2 separate regions of the Homo sapiens genome follow, and region 2 is linked to region 1. The links are contacts of gene promoters, found by promoter capture Hi-C in human tissues and cell types (Jung and others, 2019). All regions are on one chromosome and are shown on one strand. The core of a region is centred on a gene start or on the middle of the fragment in contact, and the rest is flanking DNA. Distances in the headings are between cores, read along the strand shown. Region 1 holds the start of DNAJC15 (DnaJ heat shock protein family (Hsp40) member C15). Region 2 overlaps LOC124903166 (a long non-coding RNA gene).

Region 1 (4,002 bases), core at 780-3,279:
ATGATGCACCCACCTTCGGCCTCCCAAAGTGCTGGGATTACAGGCATGAGCCACCGCGCCCAGCTGGGGATCAGAATTTTTAAGGACAACTCGGTGAGTAGGGGGAAGCCAGTGAGCTGGGAGTGCTGATTGGTCAGGTCAAAGATGAAATCACAGGGAGTCCAAGTTGTCTTGCGTTATCAGTTCCTGGGTGGGGGCCACGAGATCAGATGAGCCAGTTTATCGATCTGGGTGATGCCAGCTGATTCATCAAGTGCGGGGTCTGCAAAATATCTCAAGCACTGGTGGTAGTTTTTACAATAGTGATGTTAGCTCCAGCAGCAATTTGGGGAGGGTCAGAATCTTGTAGCCTCCAGCTGCATGACTCCTAAGTCATAATTTCTGATCTTGTGGCTAATTTGTTAGTCCTACAAAGGCAGTCTAGTCCCCAGGCAAGAAGGAGGTTTGTTTTGGGAAAGGGCTTTTATCATCTTTGTTTCAAACTATAAACTATGAATTACATTCCTCCCAAAGTTAGTTTGGCCTACGGCCAGGAATGTACAAGACAGCTTGGAGGTTAGAAGCAAGATGGTGTTGATTAGGTCAGATCTCTTTCTCAGTTGTAATTTTGCAATGGCGGTTTAATTCCCAGTCCAGTTCTCTTTATACTGCTATGCAATGCATGTGCTCATGTTCTGGTATGTACTATTATTCTGTGTCAGTGTTATCTTCCCTACAAGATTGTAAATTTCTAGGACCTAACTTCTTAGACATGCTAATAATATTAACTAAGTGAACAAATTAATAGACCCTCAAAACTTTAAATTCAGGAATAGAAAAAAAATAAAGCTTTTTCTTCCTGTCAGCTGATTTTGCAAAGGGTATAAGGAGCCAAAGAGCTGCCACGTTGGTACAGAAGTTGGAAAACACCATACGCTTCAACTGCTGGTTAATTTTTGCTCTAAAAACTTGATGGAGGCCAGGCGCGGTGACTCACGCCTGTAATCTCAGCACTTTGGGAGGCTGAAGCGGGCGGATCACCTGAGGTCAGGAGTTTGAGACCAGCCTGGCCAACATGGTGAAACCTCGTCTCTACTAAAAATACACAAATTAGCCAGGTGTGGTGGCACGTGCCTTTAATCCCAGGTACTCGGGAGGCAGAGGGTGCAGTGAGCCAGAGATTGCGCCACTGCACTCAGCCTGGGCAACAGAGCGAGACTCCATCTCAAAAAAAAAAAAAAGCTTAATAATAAAATGGGCTTTTATATATACAAATCAGCACAAACTCATTTGAGGGAGAGTAAGATTTACCTACTTGCTCACAACTTTTTTTCCCCTGCCTCAGGCTCCTGAGTAGCTGGGATTACAGGGACGCACCACCACACCCAGCTAATCTTTGTATTTTTAGTAGAGACGAGGTTTCACCATGTCGGCCAAGCTGGTGTGATCCACCCGCCTCGGTCTCCCAAAGTGCTGGGATTACAGCGTGAGCCACCGCACCCGGCCACAACTTTCTTCTGTGTAATTTCACCTTAAATACAGCCATTTACTTGGGGGTGGAGTAAGCAAATTGCCTCTTTAATTTCTCTCCCGGGGTGGTAGAACTGTGGCATTAAACAGAAGTGCGAACAGAAGTTGAGAGTGGGAAGAAAGGCTGCCCGGAAGGGGGTCAGGAAAGCTCAGGCAAGCCCACCCTCAGGCACTACAGCTAGACTCCGAGCTTACTGGGCAGTCATCTGATTCGACCAACATCAGTTCGCAGGGCTTAAGCCCAGTCCCTTACGGCGGCCTGGGGAGGGACCAGGCCCAAGTATATAAAGCTCCCTGAGGGTCCGCGTTGGCTTTGCGCCTGTGAGTGTGATTCAAGAACGTCCCAGTGCCCTTGGCTCCTTTCGGAGTGTGACCCCGTGCTTGCACGGGACACGTTACCCAGCTCGGGTGAGAAGGGTATCTTCCGGGAACCTCGCCTTTAATAGCACAACGAGCGCAGAGTCCACTGGATCTGCGAGAAGAAACCGCGCTAACTAGTTTGTCCCTACGGCCGCCTCGTAGTCACTGCCGCGGCGCCTTGAGTCTCCGGGCCGCCTTGCCATGGCTGCCCGTGGTGTCATCGCTCCAGTTGGCGAGAGTTTGCGCTACGCTGAGTACTTGCAGCCCTCGGCCAAACGGCCAGACGCCGACGTCGACCAGCAGAGACTGGTGAGTCCTGCCAGCGGCCCCCACCCCTCTCTGGCTCCCTTGTAGTTTCTGCTTCAGCCCCCTCTACCGCCTCACCCTTGAACCTTTGTACTCCCCCGCATTCGCTCACGGTCTGTGCCCTAGCGCTCACTTGTTCAGTGGAGAGACCGCTTTGTGCTGGGCTTTGACGCCTGGGCGTGGAAGACGGAGCAGTTCTGAGGATCTGTCTCCTCAAGGAGCTTCCAGTCTTGTCTGGGACACAAACCAGAAAACAGGCAATTGCAAATACAGTAAAATAAGTGCTGTATGTGGATTTTCCTATCTCATAGGAGGCCCTAAAAACGTCTTGCAGGGGACGTGGTGGGATCAGGGACGCTTCTTGGAGAAAGCTGTAGTTAAAAATTAAGATCTGAATGAATAAAAACAGTCCATTCAGCAAGGAGAAGGGGAAAAAGTGTTTCGGGTACCAGGACTACTGTCTCCAAAGTCTCCGGCACAGAAACAGGGCCCAGTTGGAAACTCCAAGTGGTGTATTCAGGATGAACTGTAGAGCTGGAAAAAGGAAGGGTCTAACAGAAAACTGTCCAACAGAAGCATATTGTGAGCCACATACGTATTTTTACGTTTTTTTTTTTTTTTTTTTTTTTTGAGACGGAGTCTCGCTCTGTCGCCCAGGCTGGAGTGCAGTGGCGCGATCTCGGCTCACTGCAAGCTCCGCCTCCCGGTTTCAGGCCATTCTCCTGCCTCAGCCTCCCAAGTAGCTGGGACTACAGGCGCCTGCCACCACTCCCGGCTAATTTTTTGTATTTTTAGTAGAGACGGGGGTTTCACCGTGTTAGCCAGGATGGTCTCGATCTGCTTACCTCGTGATCCGCCCGCCTCGGCCTCCCAAAGTGCTGGGATTACAGGCGTGAGCCACCGCGTCCGGCATATTTTTAAGTTTTTTGTAGCCATATTAAACAACTGAAGAGAAACAGGTGGGTTTGATTTTAACCATGTATTTTCTTTAACCTGATATATGCACAGTTGCATGGTAATTTTCAACATTCAATATGAAATATTGCCCAAGTGGTGGTTTAGGCTTGTAATCCCAGCGCTTTAGGAAGCCCAGGCAGGAGGATCACTTGAGGCCATGAGTTTGGAGGACAGCCTGGGCAACACAGGAGACCCCATCTCTGCTAAAAAAAAAAAAAAAAAATTAGCTGGGTGTGGTGGTGTGAGCCTGTAGTCCTAGCTGCTTGGGAGGCTGGGTCGGGAGAATCACTTGAGCCCAGGAGTTGAGGTTATAGTGAGCTATGATTTCGCCACTGCACTCCAGCCTGAGAGACAGAGCTAGACCCTGTCTCCAACAAAGAAAAAAAAATGAGGCAGTAGAGATTTAGAAAGTTTTAAGTAACTGGTCCAGGATCATCCCTGGTAAGTGGCAGATCTACGATTCCAAATGCTACACTTTTTCCCTTATGACTTGCTGACTCCTTAGAAATAAGGATTTCTGGATATAGTATTCAGTGTATGATACAGCTGAACAAGATCAGGCAGAAGTAATCCTTTTGTGGAGAGTCGTAAAAATCCGAGTATCAGGCTTTCAAGGTAGTTGGGAGCTGTGGTAATTGGAAGATAGAACTAATATTGGTGACTTTTACATGTGTAGGTATTTTTACTTGGAAGAGGAGAGAGTTTACAGAATCCAGAGTACCACATAGGAAGCATCTTTAGTAGTCCAGGTACTTGAAGGCTAAAGTGTAGGCCAGTGATTCTCAAACTGTCTGTGTCCTGTAATATCCTGAAATCCTGAAGTCAGATTCATAGACAATAAAATCTACCTGTAAACATAACTTTTAATAA
Region 2 (4,002 bases), core at 669-3,168, 790 kb after region 1:
AACGCAGGGAGTAGCACATGAACCAATGGTGTAGATCCTCAGAGACATGTTTCCCTGCTTCCCGACTCCCACCCAGCCTCTGAGTCTCCATACAGCTTGGACTCAAAGATTCTCTTTTATTCCTTCTCCATGATAGTTAGACCCCCGTGCTCAGTTTCGTGGTTGTTCCAGCACGCAAAGGCTATGGTTTGAAATATCCCAGCCTTTCCTTTCTATTTCATCCATATCCTGCCCATCGTCTCAAAGATAGCTCATCTTGTTCACTCCTTGAAAATTTGTGAAACATATTTGGTATTTCATTATATTAACTCTTTCAGTGCTGCTGAACTGTTTCATCTGCTTCAGGTATTAGTGGCAGGAAGGAGAGGACCATGCCTTGCACATTATGTTGCAGAGATTCCCTTAGTAGATGTACACTTGTTGAATAAATGGTCCAGAATCATACCAATTGGAATACTTTCTTAAATCAAGTTACATGTTTGTATGGTGCCCTAGAAAATGTCTAGCACTTCTTAGGTGTTCAATAAATATTAATACTGCACTTGTAACCTGAGATGTTGAATTTGGTTTTAAAATAAGCCAACAAAGTAAGCAAGCTACTTCCCAGGTATGTTACCTTTTATAACTTCTATGTTTACAACTCTACTACCATATTGAGAGAATAACTGTTTAACATGATGACCCTGTGGTAAAAATCCAAACTCATTAAAAAAGAAAAGTTTGAGTTTCAAGTCAGTTACAAGTAAAATCAAATAAAGGAAGAAAGGAAGGAAAGCATGAGGGAGGGAAGGAGAGAGGGAGGGAGGAAAGAAGAAAAAAAGAAAAATTAAAATGCATTTGACATATTGAATGTATTAATTCAATTGCCAACCATTCTTTTGCAGTGCCTCCTAATCCTGGACAACAGAACATTGCTGGACAACCATGGCAAAGCTGAGCTCAGTGGGCTCACCATGGATTTACTCTGATCTGCATTACTTAGATCATTAATGTCAATCCCTTTTTTCCCAGTAGCTTTATGTCTGTTCACATCATTTCATTCTCAATTGCACTAGCTCTGTGCTTTTACCCTTAGCTGTTATCCTCACCCTCTATCTAAACAAGAGCTCCTTTGATTTCCTTCCTCCTCACTTTAAAATTTTCTTTTGCCTTTGATCGTTCTCTTATTTTTCTCATCCTGTCTCAGGAATGCTCTTTCTTCCCAAGGCTATGCCTTCCTCTCTGTATGGATCCTGTCCCCTCCTGGCTTTCCAGGACTACTGCATGAATTACCTTCTATTTTCTTGCATCTTCAGTGTCACCCTTTTCATGAGCTCTGCAACAGTCCTATTGCCCAAGCTCTAGAAAATCCCCCTCTTAAATTATTGTATTTCTAGCCTTTCATTTACTATCTCATTTCTCAAAAGTGCAATAAACATGTAATTTCCCTTTTTCTACTCTTTTGGTTTGAGGCATATTATCCTTCTATTTCTCACACCTAAGGCCTCAAATTCCACCTGTAAGGGGGTGAGCTTGCACTTAGGTTCTAGGCTAAATCTAGTCACAAGAAAGCAACTAGTGCAGTTAGATTCACAGTTTAGAGTGTCTGTGGAAATGCTTCACCTTGGGATGGGATTCTGCCTGCATTACTGTTACTTAAGCATACTGATGCCACCTGGATATTCACCTGCTTCAGCTTCTGCCTGTTGACCCCTTGCACACTACTTTCTCCCCCTCTCATGTTTGGAAGAATCAACCTCAAAATGTTAACTTCATTATTGATAAAGCCAACTGGGGAACATGTCTTTAGATGTTTGGTCAAAAGCCTTGCTGAGTTGAATTTTCTCCTACAACAGCAGCCCAGAATGCACTCTCTCTGCACTTGGTTTGCAGGCTGGCTTATGGAGAGTCAGGGGTTAAGTGTTCTTCCAACTTTGCAAAAGATAAATCAGTCATCTACTAGGAAAAGAGGAAAATCAGAGATAAGCTGAAAGCATTCCTCTCATAATTTTCCATTCCTGGGGAGTAGATTTGACATTTTCTTCCCTTAATGGAAACATGAGTCATGAGGAATAAATGCTCCCTGCTATCAGTCCTCTCTCTCCCTTCTAGGGCTTCTCCTGGTTCCTGTTCGGCCCCCAGAAAGCTTGTCTAATCTTGGCTAGCCTGATCCAGCCTCCACCAGCCCCGATGCTGCTGGTATACACTTGCTCCTTAACCACACATACTGTGGTTTCTGCTTTAACAATCAGCCATAGGATTTTAATTACCCAATCTAGCCACACGTTCTCAGTCCTTTTCTTCTCTAACTTCTCAGCTCAAAAATTTTGAATACATCCCATTTGATTGTGGACAAAGAGGCAATGATCATGGGGTAATGCACTATGTTTTTGTACACTAAGTTTCTTTTGTAAATACCATTGTTTCTGGCCAGGCGTGGTGGCTCACACCTGTAATCCCAGCACTTTGGAAGGCCGAGGCAGGCGGATTGCCTGAGGTCAGGAGTTCGAGATCAGCCTGACAAACATGGTGAAACCCCCTCTCTACTAAAAATACAAAAATTAACTGGGTGTGGTGGCACATGCCGGTAATCCCAGCTACTGAGGAGTCTAAGGAAGGAGAATTGCTTGAACCCAGCAGGAGGAGGTTGCAGTGAGCCAAGACTGCGCCACTGCACTCCAGCCTGGGTGAGAGAGCAAGACTCTGTCTCAGAAAAATTAAATAAATAAATAAATAAATAAAGCCATTGTTTCTAATTTTTTTTTTTAAAAAAAGCTGTTTCCTTAACATTCCAGTATGCTCTATTCTAAGGCTTTTCTAAAAATCAGTATTCATATAAAAAATACTTTCTACTGATGTAGAAGAGGGGTAAGAACTTTGGAGTGAAAACAGATTAAAGCTTGGGTTTGAATTCCAGTTCTGACACTTACTAATTAAATGACTTTATTTAATTTCTCATCACTTTAGTAATTTCATTTCTAAACTGGTGATTAACAGTGGCTAATGTGTATTAAATACATAATGCTAATCACTGAGGGCTTTATATGCATTATCTTATTTAATCTTACAACTCCATGAAGTAATCCTATTATTATTTCCATTTTACAGATTTTTAAAATGAGATTTAATGAACAAAAGAAACTCGCCCAAAGTCACACAACCAGTAAGTGAGAGAGTTTGGAATAAAATCTAATAAAACACATATTTGAACTCAAGTTTATGTAAATCCGAAGTTAAAGCTCTTAAAAGCTGTGCTTTTCTTTTTCTGTACTTAGTATATGCAAAGATCTCCTACAGTGCCTTGTGCTGATTATGAAGTCACCAGACAATAGCTGTCATTATCATCACTGCCATCATTATTATAAACAAAACATTACGTTCGAGCTTGGCCATCAGTCTTTTTGCAGTGTTTTTCAATTTGGTTTCTTATTATGGATTCACTAAAAGGAGTCAATTTCTCTTTTTATATGGACACTTTGTAGTAGAATTGAAGATAACAATTATTAGATAAATTGACATGGTGTTATTCATGTACTAGAAGGAAACATTGACATATTTCTTAATAAGCTGAGTATGAGAAAAACTTTCCTAACTATGACACAAAATACAAAAACAGTAAAACAATTGATCAGTTCAACTACATAAAAATAAAACAACTTTTGCATGGCAAAAGTAATATAAAAAAGTAAAAAGACAAATGACAAGCTGGGGAAAATAATTGCTACTTCTGTCACAAACGAAAGATTATTCTGGCATGAAGACAGCCACATTGACCTACAGGATAGAATAGAATGCCAAGAAACAAGCTCTCACATAGATGGTCAAAACATTTTTGACAAGGGGACCAAGACCATACAATGAGGAAGAAACAGCCTTCCACAGATGGTGCTGGGAAAACTGGGTATCTACTTGCAAAAGAATGAAGTTGGCCCCTGCTTTTATACCACATACAAAAATCAACTCAAAATGTATCAAATATTGGGCTGGGCATGGTGGCTCACACCTGTAACTCTAGTACTTTGG

What was found. The method cuts DNA at HindIII sites, captures the fragments that hold promoters and counts their contacts. A contact is called where the count stands out against the background at its distance.
Region 2: a fragment that was not itself captured here is called in contact with the fragment with the promoter of DNAJC15 in region 1 in 1 of the 25 tissues and cell types used here (hippocampus).

Annotation. Positions count from the first base shown.
Region 1 is chr13:43,021,557-43,025,558 of GRCh38, forward strand. It overlaps DNAJC15 (DnaJ heat shock protein family (Hsp40) member C15), which reads left to right and starts at 2,030. Exons shown (of 6, transcript NM_013238.3): 1 at 2,030-2,178. The coding sequence starts at 2,071. RefSeq lists enhancers at 1,849-1,908, 1,919-1,968, 2,479-2,528. The HindIII fragment of the contact is 4,695 bases long and covers 1,025-4,002 here.
Region 2 is chr13:43,813,381-43,817,382 of GRCh38, forward strand. It overlaps LOC124903166 (a long non-coding RNA gene), which reads left to right. Exons shown (of 3, transcript XR_007063773.1): 3 at 885-1,436. Among named protein-coding and RNA genes, the nearest start is that of ENOX1, 28 kb to the left of the region's middle. The HindIII fragment of the contact is 3,357 bases long and covers 241-3,597 here.